Linked DNA regions of Homo sapiens: region 2 is linked to region 1. Evidence: promoter capture Hi-C in human tissues and cell types (Jung and others, 2019). All regions are on one chromosome and are shown on one strand. The core of a region is centred on a gene start or on the middle of the fragment in contact, and the rest is flanking DNA. Distances in the headings are between cores, read along the strand shown.

Region 1 (3,743 bases), core at 720-3,219:
CATGCAAGAAGCCTTTATTGAGTGCCAACTTGTGCCATGCTATGTACGAAGCATCATTTTAGATGTAGAAGAGACAGCAGGAAGCAAAGCACACCAGGCCTGTTGGCTGGAGAATGCTATTTCCTCTCCAAATGTGCAATGCAGCAATTACTAATGACATGCTTCTTTTCTTGAGGAACTTCTCTGGTGCATGAGATAAGTCACACTTCTTGGTTTGAGATCCACCTCAGACACTGGGATATTTGGTGGCTCCATCCTGTGTGACAGCAAACACAAAAGGCATCCACTTGCTGGCAGTTAGCACTAACTTAAAAAAACAAACAAATAAAACAAAATAAAAGGGCCAAGCGCAGTGGCCCGTGGGAGCAGGGAAAGGCTTCTGGTGAGAGTTGGAAAGGTGGACTGGGCCGGATGCTCTTCCTTCATCCCAATTAAATCTCTATGGCATTTAGCAAATGCCAAGGAAGAGCCCAGCACTTTGGGAGGCCGAGGTGGACAGATCACATGAGGCCAGGAGTTCAAGACCAGTCTGGCCAACATGGTGAAACCCCATCTCTACTAAAACTACAAAAATTAGCCAGGCACATGTATAACCCCAGCTACCCGGGTAGCTGAGGCAGGAGAATTGCTTCAACCTGGGAGGCAGAGATTGCAGTGAGCTGAGATTTTGCCACTGCACTCCAGCCTGGGCGACAGAGGGAGATTCTGTTTCAAAAAGAAAAAAAAGAAACGGCGTCCAACATGATCAGTCATTAGATGTAACTATGTAAAAGTCAGCTTTAGATTAGTTTATATGGTATTATTACAATTTCAGGCTCTTTAGTTACATATTGATTTTTAAACTCCCTCACTTTGTTCCTTCCCTCTGTTTTTTTTTTCCTGCTCTCATAACTTTATCAGGCCTTTGAAAAGTTCATGGGTCCCAGACACTGTGTGGGAGGGTGTGGAAGTGAGTGTGGATGTGGGCTGCGGTGGAGATAGGTGTGTGTGTGAGACCGTGAATCACAGTGACAGGTAATGCAGGGTGACTGTCTGAGGCCTGAGAGTGGGGCCCATGTGCAAGCCCAAGAAAGTGGCTGGTGTGAGAATGAGGGTGTTCAGACTATTGAAGGGTGTTTGGATGAAAGAGGCAGGTGCGTGTGTGTCATGGTGAGTTCCCAGAATCCAGATAGAGAATGAGGGTGAGGATGGTGAAGGTCAGAGGGTGAAGGAGTCTGATAAGCTGAGGGTCCCTGTGTGACTGTGATTTCTGCAGGCACATGGGTGTGAGGCTTGAGAAACTGGGTGCATGGATGATGGTGACCAACAGGAGGGTGAGAGTGTTATGTGTGTGTGCAGGACTCACATGTGATTGTGAATGTTAGATGTTGCAGGCAGTGAGCAGTGGCAGGTGTGTGTGTAGGGCCTGGGCGTGAATATGCACGTTGGTGCAAGAGTGAGTGAGAATGACTGACTGATGGGGTGAGCGTGGCCGGGTGCCCGTGTGATTGTGCATGTCAGATATTGGTGGGGATGAGTGTCACAGCGCGCGTGTATAGGGCTGGGATGTGATTGTGAATGTGGGATTTTGCGGGGGGTGCGGTGGCAGGGTGCGCGCACGGCGGGCGTGGGCGGGGGGCGCGTGGCCGGGTGGGCGCGCGTGGGGGGCGCGGGCGCGGGCCGGGGGCGGGGACACTGCAGCGGTCGCGGCGGCGCGGACACGGCCCGGCCGCCCCCCGTGGCAGGCGCGGCGCGGCGCGGAGCGAGCGGGCGCAGCGCGGAGCTCGGGCCCATGGTGCGCCCGTGTCCGTCGGTCGGGCCGCGCGGGCGCTCCGCGCGTGGCCCGGCGCTCGCGAGCTCGCCCCCTCGCTGCGGGCCCGGCCCGCCCGCTGCCGCCGCCTCCTCCCCCGGGGCGGCGCGGCGCCGGCGGGCGGCGGCGCGGAGGCCGGACCGGGCGGCGGCCCAGGCGGCGCGGGGGGCGCGGCGGCCAAGGCGGGCGGCGCCGCCGACATGACGGACAACATCCCGCTGCAGCCGGTGCGCCAGAAGAAGCGGATGGACAGCAGGCCCCGCGCCGGGTGAGTGGGCCTGGGCCCGTGTTTTCCTTTGTCCGCGCCTCCCGGAGCCCGGCGCTCGGGCCAGCCTGGCCGGGCCTGACAGGTTGGCCGCGCGCCGCGCCCGGCGCCATGAGCCTGGGGCAGGGCTGGGGAGGCGGGGAGGTGGGGAGGGGGTCCCTGCGCTTCAGCCCCGGGCGGCACCTAGCCTGATGCCGGCCCTTTGGGGTTCGAGCGCCCGGTTGCCTGGGCCTCCTTGCCCACCTTCCTTTAGAAACCCCGAGAAGCCGGGCCCGCCCCAGTGCTGTTTACACACTCGCGGAATTCGGATCAGCCGTGCTTTCTCACCGTTTTATTGTTCCGTAATTAATATCTGTCCGTAATTAATATCTGAGGTAACAATTTGGTCAGTGTCACACCGAGCTCTGCGCTTGGAGCATTACTCGGGAGCCCAGATATGCTCAGCTTTTAGGGGGGCGCGGCCTACGCCTCGGGGTACCCCATCAGCGCCCCTGGGTCCCAGCCCCAGGAGGCTGCGCCGAGACCACCTGCGCTCCGGTGGCCCCTTCCCCCTCCGCCCGGGGTGGACCCGAACCAGCAGTCGCAGGAGGGTGGGAGGGTCTCCTACTGGCCGCTTGGTGACACTACCCCTTGTGTTCTCCCCCCACAATTTCGGGGAAGGAATCCCACGGCTGGGACAGGGGCTGCCACCTGCTGTGCCCTTCCCGCAGTAGGAGACCCCGAGGGCAGCTTAGGCGCGGAACAGGCAAGGGTTTTTCTGCATTTGGGAAGAGGGGACGGGTTGGTATTTTGCGCCTCGCCGTCTTCCTGTTCGGAGGATGGCAGCGTGACGCGTTGAGGTTTGCGGGGCTCTCGTATCGCCTGCCATAGACTTACCTGGGCGTGAGGGGCGGGGGTGGGAAGGACGGGGGTGGGCGCTGGTGCAAATGCAGATTTCCCGGCCCCCGCCTAGACCCGCCAATCAGAGTTCTGGGGGGCGGGGCCTGGAGATGTGCAGCTCCACAGGCCGCGCAGGTGAGGCTGGAGCCCGCGGGAGGCTGAGCGCGGTGTTGGGCGGGGCCTGCGGCCGCTCTGCTCCGCCCTTCCTCGGGCGTCTGGTCCTCTCTGGGCATTTCCCGGTGGCGGCCGCTTATTGCAGCGTCAGTTGCTCGGAACAGGAGACGCGGCGGGTGGAGTGAACCATAAGGGTGGCTTCACCAGGTGTCAGTGGAATTAAAAAAAAAAAAAAAAAGAATGGTGCTGGCGGCCATTTTGTGGGGTCTTTGTCCCTGGCTTCCTGAATCCTCCGAAGAAGAGGCCTCACTGATATTACCCAGAGGAGGAAACTGGAGGTTACGGAGGTTAAGGGCTATAGGGAAGACTGCAAAATGGAGATTGAACTCCGGATTGTCTGACCCAAAGATAGTTCCCTCACTCCTCCCTTCTCTGTTTTGCGTTTATTATTATTAGTATTATTATTATTATTGAGACGGAGTCTCCCTCTGTTGCCCACGCTGGAGTGCTGTGGCGAGATCTCGGCTCACTGCAACCTCCGCCTCCCGGGTTCAAGCAATTCTCTGCCTCAACCTCCCGAGTAGCTGGGATTACAGGCGCCCGACACCACGCCTGACTAGTTTTTGTATTTTTAGTAGAGACGGGGGTTTCACCATCTTGGCCAGGCTTGTCTTGAACTCCTGACCTCGTGATCCA
Region 2 (3,743 bases), core at 661-3,160, 93 kb after region 1:
TCATGCCTGTAATCCAAGCACTTTGGGAGGCCAAGGTGGGAGGATCACTTGAATCCAGGAATTCAAGACCAGCCTGGGCAACATAGTGAGACCTCATTTCTACAAAAAAAACAAAAATTAGCCAAGCATGGTGGCATGTGCCTGTGGTCCCAGCTACTCGGGAGGCTGAAGTGGGAGGATCGCTTGAGCCCAGGATGTTGAGGCTGCAGTGAGCTATTAATATGATTGTGCCACTGCACTCTAGCCTGGGCAACAGAGTAAGACCCTCTCTCAAAAAAAAAAAAAAAAAAAAAAAAAAAAGAGACTGGGCGTGGTGGCTCATGCCTGTAATCCCAGAACTTTGGGAGGCCGAGGCAGATGGATCAGTTGAAGTCAGGAGTTCAAGACCAGCCTGGCCAACGTGGTGAAACCCCATCTCAACTAAAAATACAAAAATTGAGGTTGGGCGTGGTGGCTCATGCCTGTAATCCCAGCACTCTGGGAGGCTGAGGCAGATGGATCAGTTGAAATCAGGAGTTCAAGACCAGCCTGGCCTACATGGTGAAACCCCGTATCTACTAAAAATACAAAAATTAGCCGGGTGTGGTGGCAGGTGCCTGTAATCCAAGCTACTCCGGAGGCTGAGGCAGGATAATTGCTTGAACCCAGGAGGTAGAGGTTGCAGTAAGCGGAGATCACGCCATTGCATTCCAGCCTGGGGAACAAGAGTAAAACTCCGCCTCAAAACAAAACAAACCCAAAAGTTAGCCAGGCATGGTGGTGCACGCCTATAATCCCAGTTATTGAGGAGGCTAAGGCAGGAGAATCGCTTGAACATGGTGGGAAGCTTTCAGTTAGCCCATGTTGTGCCACTGCACTCCAGACTCCAGCATGAGCAACAGAGCAAGACTCTGTCTCAAAAAAAAAAAAGAACCCAGTCTCTCAAGAGGATCAGACTCTTCTATTTGCAAGCCTGCCTGTCTGTATTAATATTTCTTTTCTTTTTTTTTTTTTCTTTTTTCCATTTTAGGTACTGTTGTGGGTGTTGTTCTTTACACTGGCAGAGAACTCCGGAGTGTCATGAATACCTCAAATCCCCGAAGTAAGGTGTGTACGAGGTCATGGGGTACATTGACCGGCTGTGGGCTGGTTGGTTCTGGTGGGTGAGTGACGAGATATTAAAATAGGAACACCTAAGAGTGATATTTATACAGACATTTTATCTTTTTATGCATATGTGTGTGTGTGTATGCAATAAATACATATACAATACACATATATAATACAGTACGTAAATATGTAGTTACATGTTTGTGGATATATGACTTTTTTGTGCCTTTTTTTTTTTTTTCTTTTTTTGAGACAGGGTCTCACTTTGTTGCTCAGGCAGGAATACAGTGGCTTGATTTTGGCTCACTGTAACCTCTGCCTCCCGGGCTCAAGCAATCCTCCCAACTCCACCTCCTGAGTAGCTGGGACTATAGGCGTGTACCACCATGCCTGGCTAATTTTTGTATTTTTAGTAGAGATGGGGTTTCACCATGTTGGCCAGGCTGGTCTCAAGCTCCGGACATCAAGTGATCCTCCCTCCTCGGCCTCCCAAAGTGCTGGGATTACAGGCGTGAGCCATGGCGCCCAGCATTTTTTGTGCTTTTAGGTTAAACTGTGGAGCACGTACGGTTTGCACGCCTTGTGTTTCACCCTTCACGTGCATCTCATTTCATCTTCATAACAGCCCTGTGAGTGCATGCTTCCTTTATCCATGAGAAACGGCTTCAGGAAGCACCGTGCCCTGTCCAGGCTACACAGTGAGGACGGGGCAGGCCCATGTGATTCAAACCGTGACCCACCATCACAGCTTACCCCTCCTCCAATTTTTAAGAGTCAGAACATTACAGAATAATTGTCTTTTGTCAGTAGCAGGAAGGAATGCTGTGTCTCCTAAACTTCAGTCATGGTCGCTCCACCATTAGACGTTACAGCCATCATTACAACTATAAAATCGTTTGTTTAATGTTTTAGCCTTATCCTGGGGCATGTTTCTATGAAGTTATGGATATGATTTGTTACTTTTTAAAAGACTAGACATGAAGATAAATGTATTATTATTAAAATAATAATGTCCAGGGCCGGGCACGGTGGCTCACACCTGTAATCCCAGCACTTTGGGAGGCCGAGGCAGGTGGATCACCTGAGGCCAGGAGATTGAGACCAGCCTGGCCAACATGGCGAAACTCCGTCTCTACTAAAAATACAAAAATTAGCTGGGTGTGGTGGCGGGCGCCATAATCCCAGCTTATCGGGAGGCTGAGGTAGGAGAATCGCTTGAACCCAGGAGGTGTGAGCCAAGATTGTGCCCTTGCATTCCAGCCTGGGTGACAAAGCGAGACTCCATCTCTAAATAAATAAATAATAAAATAATGTCCATTAATGCACCACCTAAAAATCGGGTGCCACCACTGGTGTGCGCCCCAGACTTTCAGGCACTGCCGAGTTGGTGTTGGGTAGGGTGCTGAGAGTTTAGGATCTGAGTTGTTTTACAAGGCCAAGGGCACTCTGCAGGGTGGTGGAGGCTATTCAGCACACGACCCAGCCAGCACAGCAGTAACTCGCTGATACATTTCCAAGTGTAAATCTTCTTTAGTTGTAAACATTTTTTTGAGTTTTCAGAATTCTTTGAGTTCCCTTGGATGCCTGTTATGAACACCAGCCCATGGAAGCAGTGTTCTTAGACCAAAGATATGAGGATCGATGGATCCCACTGTCCTACCTGGGGTAGAGGTGTTTGTAGGGGAAGGACCAGCTCTCCGGCAGGCTGAGTTAGTGCAGTGAGGCTCAGCTCACTGCAGCCTCCACCTCCTGGTTTAGGTTTGAGATTAGTTACACCAGCTCATCTCAAGCCCTGGTTTGTGCTTCGTCCCACAGATCGGCCTGTTCGACTTGGAAGTGAACTGCCTCACCAAGATCCTCTTTGGTGCCCTGGTGGTGGTCTCGCTGGTCATGGTTGCCCTTCAGCACTTTGCAGGCCGTTGGTACCTGCAGATCATCCGCTTCCTCCTCTTGTTTTCCAACATCATCCCCATTAGGTAAGCAGGCGACGAGCTTGAGTTTGGCTGCCGTGACATCTTCTTCTCTTTACTCATTCAAAGATGATGGTTCTGTGGCTTTTATTATTATTATTGTTTTCTGAGATGGAGTTTTGCTCTTGTTGCCCAGGCTGGAGGGCAGTGGCGCGATCTTGGCTCACTGCAACCTCCACCTCCCAGGTTCAAGTGATTCTCCCGTCTCAGCCTCCTAAGTAGCTGGGATTACAGGCATGCACCACCATGCCTGGCTAATTTTTGTATTTTTAGTAAAGATGGGGTTTCACCATGTTTGCCAGGCTTGTCTTGAACTCCTGACCTCAGGTGATCTACCTGACTCAGCCTCCCAAGGTACTGGGATTGTAGGTGTGAGCCACCGCGCCCATCGGCTTTTAGAAGGAGCAGATCTCTTTGTAGAGTGAGGACCAAGAGCAATCAGTCAGGAGTGTGAACCACACTGAGGCTCTAGCACCAGAAGATCACATTCCTCCACAAGCCATCCTTTCTTGAATCAGAGATCTTTCCTTGCCTTGCCTCCCTATGCTAGGGATGCCATTTAGAGCTCCTGTCATCAGCCAGCTCTGCAAGGTTGATAGTGGCTGTTGGGACTGCTGTGTTGAGAAGGATTTTGAGCCTGCATCTGGGCTCAAAGGGAAATGGTGTTGTGATTGACAGCAGTGT

What was found. Contacts are between HindIII fragments. The study calls those that stand out against the background at their distance.
Region 2: a fragment that was not itself captured here is called in contact with the fragment with the promoter of ATP9A in region 1 in 3 of the 25 tissues and cell types used here (H1 embryonic stem cells, liver and stomach).

Annotation. Positions count from the first base shown.
Region 1 is chr20:51,766,616-51,770,358 of GRCh38, reverse strand. It overlaps ATP9A (ATPase phospholipid transporting 9A (putative)), which reads left to right and starts at 1,969. Exons shown (of 28, transcript NM_006045.3): 1 at 1,969-2,057. The coding sequence starts at 1,990. The HindIII fragment of the contact is 32,964 bases long and covers 1-3,743 here.
Region 2 is chr20:51,673,475-51,677,217 of GRCh38, reverse strand. It overlaps ATP9A (ATPase phospholipid transporting 9A (putative)), which reads left to right. Exons shown (of 28, transcript NM_006045.3): 10 at 1,010-1,086; 11 at 2,905-3,065. Among named protein-coding and RNA genes, the nearest start is that of ATP9A, 93 kb to the left of the region's middle. The HindIII fragment of the contact is 6,386 bases long and covers 1-3,743 here.